2 separate regions of the Homo sapiens genome follow, and region 2 is linked to region 1. Evidence: promoter capture Hi-C in human tissues and cell types (Jung and others, 2019). All regions are on one chromosome and are shown on one strand. Each heading gives the region's core, a stretch centred on a gene start or on the middle of the fragment in contact. The rest is flanking DNA. Distances are from core to core; before and after follow the strand shown. Region 1 holds the start of ZNF776 (zinc finger protein 776). Region 2 holds the start of USP29 (ubiquitin specific peptidase 29).

Region 1 (4,475 bases), core at 911-3,410:
ACAGCTCCTTCCAGGAAGGTAGAAATTTTTAAATAGTTATAAAGAAATAAGACAAATAAAGAAAACATGGATAGGAATGAAACTAAGAGGAAAAAGAAAAGGGGGAAATCATGATACTCATCCCAGCATGGTGGAAATCTTTAGATGGCTATTAGATGGAAATTAGATGAATAAAATAAAAACTGATCGGATTAAAACAAAATTCTGAATATAACACTATTGAAGGTTGGGTGGACCAAAGGAAGTTCCTGTTGATCCCCCAACATTAAAGGGCCTTAAGCTAAGTTGCTGTAGTTCCTGAAGTTTGGATAAATTTTAAAAGCCAGAAGGTAAAGATATAATGAGAAACCCCACCTGGAATGCCTAGGGTGATGGTTAGACTGGTTAATCAAGGTAGCACTTGGAAAAAAGGCCAAAGTCTCCTGGCCTGAACCCTGGGTGGAAACCTGAAGACATCTGCACAAGAAAGGGTAAAATGGTCTGGAGAGAAGAGTCCTGGGACTACAACATAAAGTAAAAGTTGACAGGACTATGAAAGTTGGAATGTTAAACATGCTTTTTTTTTTTTAAGTTGTACTACCAATAAACTGAGTTCTTTCCCTACTTTGTATTGGTCACAAAAAAAAGAACACCCAATTTGGGAAAAAAAAAAAAAAAGGCAAGCAAGTTTTATTTCTGAGCAGAAATGGAGAATGAGTAAGCTCTTGCTCTAAATGCCTCTTCTCCCTGAACATAGAAGACATAGGTTTTTTAAGAACTGAGCGGCTGGGTACAGTGGCTCATGCCTTTAATCCCAGCACTTTGGGAGGCCGAGACAGGTGGATCACCTGAGGTTGAGAGTTCGAGACCAGCCTGACCAACATGGAGAAACCCCGTCTCTACTAAAAATACAAAATTAGCCAGGTATGGTGGCTCATGCCTGTAATCCCATCCATAACATTAATTTATTAGGCAAAACACTCCTTGCCATGGAAACAGAAATAAAGAATAGTCACAAAAAAAAAAAAAGAAAAGAAATAAATAAAGTCTGTTTTATCTAATACAAAAAAAAAAAAATAGCCACTTCCCAGCAATAACATGAACTCCTGGATTTAAGACACAACCAATATCAACAGGTGGAGAGCATCTTCTGCATACGTGCCCCACCTTTGAAAACTGCAGCCATTTATCACTACCAAAATAGCATTTCTTTCATTGGTCTTCCTGTAAGATTGATAAATCTTAGATAAATTAATCCAGAATTAATTGAATATAAGTTGGAATCTCAAGCGAGGGATACTAAGTGGATAAAAGTGTTGCTCAATGTACTGGACACTATGATTGATTTTATAGGCAGGAGAGTTGTCTTCTGTGGGAATCACAGACAGAGATTCAGCATGTATTCCTGCTTTAGGGAACACAACATTTCTCCTCTATCTTCCTTGTCTTGTCCTATCTGGATTAGTTCTCTCTTGTCCCTGACAGACTGAGAAACTGACTCTAATGCCTCAGAGTGCATTCATGTGAATTTATAACACAATAATGTTTATCAGCCTCTGCTGCCAGTACCGGGATTTTGCGACTGAAAGACTGTTCAAAACGTTATGATAATTTGGATTTTTAGTCTTTGGGGGCATCCTAAATAATAAGTTTAGCATCGGAGAGCTCGAGTTCCCCAAAATCTAAAATAATATTTTTTCAAATACTTGAGTGATCAGTTACAGACACTAATCTCCAAAAATCTCAATACGGGTTCTAAGGCTAGGTGAGACTATCCTCTACCCTAGAAGGACATGCACTTTAAGGACAGGCCGCTGAGATGGAGCTGGGCCTTTCCTGCAAGTAAGTGAACGTGATGGTAGGGTATACCTGACAGCATAGTTTGACAGGGGATATAGACTTTCAAGGAGAAAATAGACATGAAATAGATACATGCAGAAGTATAGTCAAATTGAGGGAAGATGACACTTAGGCCAGAGTAGTGTTTATTCACCACTCTGTGCAATCAAGCGCCTCTGAGAAGGCCTTCTTTACCGCCTTGGAACTGTCTTGGAACCTGAGGAAACTACATAACCCAGAAATCTCTGCGTCGAATGACAGCGCGTCAGAGCCAATGAGGGCTCAAAATAAAGGCGTTTCCGCGGAAACAGTATAAAGGTGGGACTTCCGGCGTCCTCTACTAGTGGCCATTTTGATTGGTGTTGGGTGTATTTTCCAGTGAGAGACCGCGGAGTGTTGGGTCGTGTAGAAGTGACTGAACCCAGAAGGTGGAGACGAGACGTTGTCCCGACTGCACAGAGGCTGCTCTGCAGCTCCTTAAAGGCGCTAGGCGTGACCCGCACCAAGGCCGGGATCGGGACCACCGTGCCCGGGTACCTGCACTGCTCGCCCCCTCCTTTCGACCCCGCTTTCCCCACCCAGTCGGATGGCGGCGGCCGCGCTGAGGCCCCCGGCTCAGGTAATTGTGGCGTCTTCCGTGCCCTCAGGTCACCTCATCTTTACCTAAGTCCAAAAGCAGAGAGGAAGCGGCGCCTGCTCAAGGTTTTACACCCTGAACCCGGCGTCGGGACACTGAGGCGCTCTCTATGGGCCCCCGTTTTTGACACCCGCGGGATGCGCTCAGGAGAGCTACAGGCACAGGGAGCGGTGCAGGCAAAGGCCTGGAGATGAACTGAGCCGAGAGGATCGTAACCTAGGGTCCACAGGCACCTGTCGGGAGCAAAGTGTGAGGCAGAGCTCCTCCTGGAAGAGCAGGCTGAGGACCGTGTATTCACCCTGAGAACGCTGGAAGCCATGGACAGCTTCCAACAAAGGAAGGAAAAGATCAATGTCCAGGCTTTAAAGGTTTCCCAAAGTCCAGTCGAAAAAGAACACAGGGGATGACTTTTGGGCCCTGGGAGGTTGAATTCTTGTTCAACCTCTACAGATCAGATAGGTGCTAAGAGATGACATTTTGTACTGAGGCGCTCAGTTCAGACAACCAACTCGCGTTTACCTAGTTACAGGGCCAAGAAAGAGTTCAGGGAGGCCTGAGCTTATCAAATCTCATCAGGGATACATTCTTGTAGCTTGTGCCTCTCCTCTCAGGAACTCCTGGCTGCAGAAGCACTTGCAGAACCTCCGCAGGGAAGCGGAGGGTGTTATTCCCTCACTGGCCCTAACTCCTATCCACATGCTCTTTAGATTGGGATGTCCTGGGATTCTTAGGTACCTTTTTTTTTTTTTTTTTAAGTTTTTTGATATGGGAACCCTGGAGGAACCTTAAACCCAGGATCCAAAGTCTGTGACACAGGATATATGGAGGTATTCCCATTTCTGTCAACCAGTATAAACATACTTGGAAGGTTAACCCAGGAGTTAGTACCAGGATGTGAAATGCTTAGAGGTGAAACTGACCAGAGGGAGGAGGTGATGTTGCCACAGTTTCATCTGGCTGTAGTCTCCTCTGGCTGTACAGTGGAGAACAGACTGTGGGGTTGAGAGAGGAGGAAATAAGATGAGAGTTGAGGCTTTTGCCGTAATCCAAGTGAGGGTTAACAGACTAAGATTCATGGCTAAGGAGATGTGGCTGGATTCAAAGTTGATATTTTGTTACAGCATCTAGGTTTCCTAATACACAAAGTAAGGGCATGAAGAGAGCAATCAGGATCCCGAGGTTTTTGGTCTTAGTAGCTGTAGCTATGGAAGCTGCATCAGCTGAGATGAGCATGTTGGTAATAAACATAATTAGAATATTATGCAAATATCAGGATGACTGTTATGGCCATATGAAGAGTCAGAGACGAATAAGTGTAGGCATCAAATGGCTATGGACATGCAGGTTGGGGTATCTGGAAAGGGATTGACACTGGAGACATCTAATATATGGTAGCTAATGTGTATGCTATGGTGAGTGAGCCATGGGTCACATTAAGGAGAACACACTTCAGATTCTGGTGGTAAATCTTTTAGGGGACCAGAAAGCAGTGGTTGAATGATGAGGACTGCATCTGTTGCTTGGGTCCCTGGGTAATGTTACTGGGCTTCCTAAACACTGGAGAGGTAGGTAAGTGACCATGATGGTAGGGTATACCTGTCAGCATAATTTGACAGGGGACATAGACTTTCAAGGAGAGAATAGACATGAAATAGATATATGCAGAAGTGTAGTCAAATTGAGGGAAGATGACACTTAGGCCAGAGTGGTACTTATTCACCACTCTGTGCAATCAAGATTTGAGATGACTTTGGTAGTGTGTGGGGGGTTTCATTACACGTGCTGAATATGCTCAGGGAGAAATATGGTCATCTGTGACAGTAGGTCTTGGGCCTTAAATGGATTAAAAACAGGACTTTTTTTTTTTTTGAGACGGTGTCTCACTCTGTCGCCCAGGCTGGTGTACTGGTGTATAGTGGCGCAATCTTGGCTCATTACAACCTCCACCTCCCAGGTTCAAGTGATTCTCCTGCCTCAGCCTCCCGGTAGCTGAGAATACAGTTGCGTGCCACCACGCCCC
Region 2 (4,475 bases), core at 548-3,047, 630 kb before region 1:
TATTGAGGAGGAAATGGGGTACAGAGAGCTTAAGCAACTTGCCAGTGTCATGCAGCAGGGAAGCGCTGGAGGCAGGGCTCCAACCCACGCAGCCTTGCTGCATGTTTGTGGAATGAACACAGGACTCAGGCACACAACCATCTGGCTGAGGCTCCATGAGCAGCCAGGAGCCTGGTCCCAATGCAGTCTCCTTATAGGCACAAATGGGGTGCCCCTTGAGACAGGAATAATAAAGGTGGTCACAGGAGAACGGAAAATTCCAGGCAACAGTTTCACATGACTAGCAAAGGAAACCGTTGAAATCGCTGCGTAAGCTAGGGGCGGATAAGACTCTGAAAACCAGGGTGTGGGCCAAGCTGGCTAAAGCCGACTGGACCCAACATGGTGCTGGATTCGACCCGTTTCACCTAGGACCTCTCATTATGTGCTCATTAACATACTAAGTCACACACCCACTGTGACAGCTCTGGGGAACACCCGTATTTAGTATAAAAATGTGTGGCACCGCAGTACCAAGAAATGTTTACCTTTTTCCAAGAATCTTCATGAATATTCCACCCCTTGGTTAAATAAATATTTAAAGGTAGCTCCAAACCCCGCTGGGCGTGATGCTCTGTGGTATGCCTGCACTTTTCTTTCTTCAGTACGTACTTATTCCCGTCGCAATGAATCTCCACACTTTGTTCTGCTCATCCATGAATTCCTTCTCACGACAGTGTCAAGAGCCTGGACACCAGTCAGGGTCGAGGCCTCACCAGCATCTTGGGGCCTCACTGGGCACAGACGCGTGAGCGCCCGGCCTGCAGACCTGACTCTGGCAGCCGCTCAGGCCCTCAGAGGGAGAGATGGAAGCTGGCAGGACGCAGTTGCTACCGCGCGGACCCGGCCCCCGACCAGCCTTGGCCCCTCGCGCGCCGGGACAGGGCCACAAATGACTGCACCTGGGCTTCGCTGGCCCAGGCACCACGCGACTCTAAGCGCGCCCAAAGCGACCCTCTGCGCAAACTACCCCCGGGGACGACGTCACCCGTGAGGTCCCGCGGCGCCTCCTCCTAAAGCTCGGCTGGGAAACCGTCCGCTTCCCCAAGACTTGGGGGCTTGTGGCCGAGTTGTTTTAGTTTTCCTGTAGGATTCACGGGTGGCTGAGGCAAACACGCTTGAAGGCCTAAGACTTTTAAGTCTCTTCCGCACCCTCTCTTCTGTCTCTTCCACCTGGAGGATGACCGCTTTTTTGGGGGTTTTGTTGTTGTTTTGAGACGGAGTCTCGCTCTGTCGCCCAGGCTGGATTGTAGTGGCGCCATCTCCGCTCACTGCAACCTCCGCCTCCCGGGTTCAAGCGATTCTCCTGCCTCAGCCTCCCGAGTAGCTGGGATTACAGGCGCCCACCACCATGCCCGGCTGATTTTTGTATTTTTAGTAGAGACGGGGTTTCGCCACGTTGGTCAGGCTAATATCAAACTCCTGACCTCAGGTGATCCGCCCTCCTCGGCCTCCCAAAGTGCTGGGATGACAGGCGTGAGCCACCGCGCCCGGCCGGGATGACTGTTATTAACAATTCCCGGCGTGGTTTCTAGCACCAGCCCACCTACCACACCCCACCTCGCTTGAGGCTGAATGGGTAACAGGATGAACCCGCCCCTGGGCTGGTTTTCTCTGAACCCTAACTCCTGCCGTTACGCCCCACCAGCTCTAGGCCAGGAACTCTATGTGCCCCGGCCACGCTAGAGCCCGTACCTAGACCCGTAGGTCGGGAGGCCTGCGCCCGGCACTGCGCAGACGCAGCGTGCTGTGCCCAGAACTCTTCTGTTCCCAGGAGAATCAGGGGAGTCGGCGCCGGAAGGGGCGGGTCCGAGCTGAGATTTCCAGAGCCATGGGAGCCGGAAGTCCAAGGAACTGTACCTCCATCATGACGACTCCGGTTACGTAAAAACATTCAAACAGAAAATGCTGGCCAGGCTCATGCCTGTAATCCCAGCACTTTGGGAGGCCGAGGCGGGAGGATCGCTTGTGCCCAGGAGTTGGAGACCAGCCTGGGCAACATAGTGAGACCCTCCCCCCACCCATCTCTACAAAAAATTTTAAAATTAGCTAGCTGAGATCATGCCACTGCACTCCAGCCTGGACAACAAAGTGAGACTATGTCTCAAAAAAATTTAAAAATTACCCACGCCTGTAGTGTCAGATAGTCAGGAGGCAGAGGTTGGAGGATGACTTGAGCCTTGGGGATCGAGGGTGTAGTGAGGTATGATCGCACCACTGCACTCCAGCCTGGGCAACAGAGCAAGACCCTGTCTCAAAAACTATATAAAAGAAAAAAGGGCTGGGTCGGTGGCTCACGCCTGTCATGCCAGCACTTTGGGAGGCCGAGGCGGGTAGATCACCTGAGGTCAGGAGTTTGAGACCAGCCTGACCAACAAGGTGAAACCCTGTCTCTACTAAAAATACAAAAATTAGCTGGCCATGATGGTGGGTGCCTGTAATCCCAGCTACTGGGGAGGCTGAGGCAGGAGAATCACTTGAACCCCAGAGGTGGAGGTTGCAGTGAGCCGAGATCACACCACTGCACTCCAGCCTGGGCGACAGAGCGAGAGACTCCGTCTCAAAAAAAAAAAAAAAAAAAAAAAAACAGAAAAAAGGCCGGGCACGGTGGCTCACTCCTGTAATTCCAGAACTTTGGGAGGCCAAGGCGGGCGGATCAGGAGTTCGAGACTGCCTGGGCAACATAGCGAAACCCCGTCTCTACTAAAAATACAAAAAATTAGCCAGGCGTGGTGGCGGGCTCCTGTAATCCCAGCTACTCAGGAGGCTTAGGCAGGAGAATCACTTGAACCCAGGAAGCAGAGGCTGCAGTGAGCCGAGATCACGCCATTAAACTCCAGCCTCGGTGACAGAGTGAGACTCCATCCCCGCTCCGCTCCCTCACCTCCCGCCAAAAAAAAAAAAGAAAATGCACTGCAATAGAAAAATAAAAGTACTACACTTTGGTCAAACAGGGTAACTACTAGAACGTAAAATGATCTTTTTGAAACTATCCACATTTGTTACACGTGTTGAAAATGTAGGATATATATGTTATATATATACTTATATATGTTATATATACTTATATATGTTATATACTTATATATGTTATGTACTTATATATTATATATACTTATATATGTTATATCTACTTATGTTATATACTTATATATGTTATATATACTTATATATGTTATACATACTTATATGTTATATATACTTATGTTATATACTTATATATGTTATATATACTTATACATGTTATACATACTTATATGTTATATATACTTATATATGTTATATATACTTATATATGCTATATATACTTATATATGCTATGTATACTTATATATGTTATATATATACTTATATGTATGTTATATATACTTATATATGTTATATATGCTTATATGTATGTTATATATGCTTATATGTTATATATACTTACATATGTTATATATACTTACATATGTTATATGTACTTACATATGTTATATATATACATATATGTTATATATATATAATTATATATATATAAAACAAAAAGCACGGTTACTACAAAGAAAACAGGTAAACATTAAGTGGAGTAAAAGTATATCCTGTTATATAAGGGACTTGAACATGTCTGGGCATGGTGGCTCAAGCCTGTAATCCCAGCACTTTGGGAGGCTGAGGCGGGTGGATTACTGGAGGTCAGGAGTTCGAGACCTGGGCAACATAGCAAGACCTTGTCTCTATTAAAAAATAGATAGATAGATAGATAGATAGATACATAGAACATCAAAAGAGGGAGAGAGAAAGCAGACAGATGTGGCAAAATATACACAATTGGTAAATTTGGGTGAAGGGAATATAAGTTATTTCTACTAATCTTGCAATTCTTATGTATATTTGCAATGATTTCTAAATAAAAGTTTTTAATTACCAATTGAAATAAAGTAAAATAAGTCACTATCTAGCCTTTTCTAGACAAATATTTTAAACTCTTACACAGAGATAAGTTAATCAAGAAACGTATTTCCTGGAAAAACCCGTGATATGGGTGGAGCCACCTGGGAATAAAAGGTCGGAACATCATAATCACTGTCAGACTCAACTTCCATCATTCTCCTCCAGGCGCTATGGAGTCTAATCCAGGCACTTTGGAAGGCTGAGGCTGGAGGATCGATTGAGGCCAGGAGTTTGGGACCACCCTGGGCAACATAGCAAGATCTCATTTCTGAAAAAAGAATTATCATCCACTCACCCAGAACAGCTCTCCAAACTGTAAGTTTCATTCAAGGTTTGCTTGTTTGGGTGATGGGATGTGTGTGTGTGTGTGTGTGTGTGTGTGTGTGTGTGTGTGTGTATGTGTGTGTGAGTGTTGGAAGGAGGGTCTGTCTAAACTTAATGCCCTAAAGATATTGTCAGATATTGTGATGAGGGGAATTTCATCTTCTACCCTTTATGAGGTT

Evidence for each region. Contacts are between HindIII fragments. The study calls those that stand out against the background at their distance.
Region 2: the fragment with the promoter of USP29 here is called in contact with the fragment with the promoter of ZNF776 in region 1 in 1 of the 25 tissues and cell types used here (aorta).

What each region holds. Positions count from the first base shown.
Region 1 is chr19:57,744,655-57,749,129 of GRCh38, forward strand. ZNF776 (zinc finger protein 776) reads left to right here and starts at 2,161. Exons shown (of 3, transcript NM_173632.4): 1 at 2,161-2,437. The coding sequence starts at 2,405. RefSeq lists an enhancer at 2,173-2,222. The HindIII fragment of the contact is 15,716 bases long and covers 1-4,475 here.
Region 2 is chr19:57,118,188-57,122,662 of GRCh38, forward strand. It overlaps USP29 (ubiquitin specific peptidase 29), which reads left to right and starts at 1,798. Exons shown (of 4, transcript NM_020903.3): 1 at 1,798-2,042; 2 at 4,138-4,287. The HindIII fragment of the contact is 14,839 bases long and covers 1-4,475 here.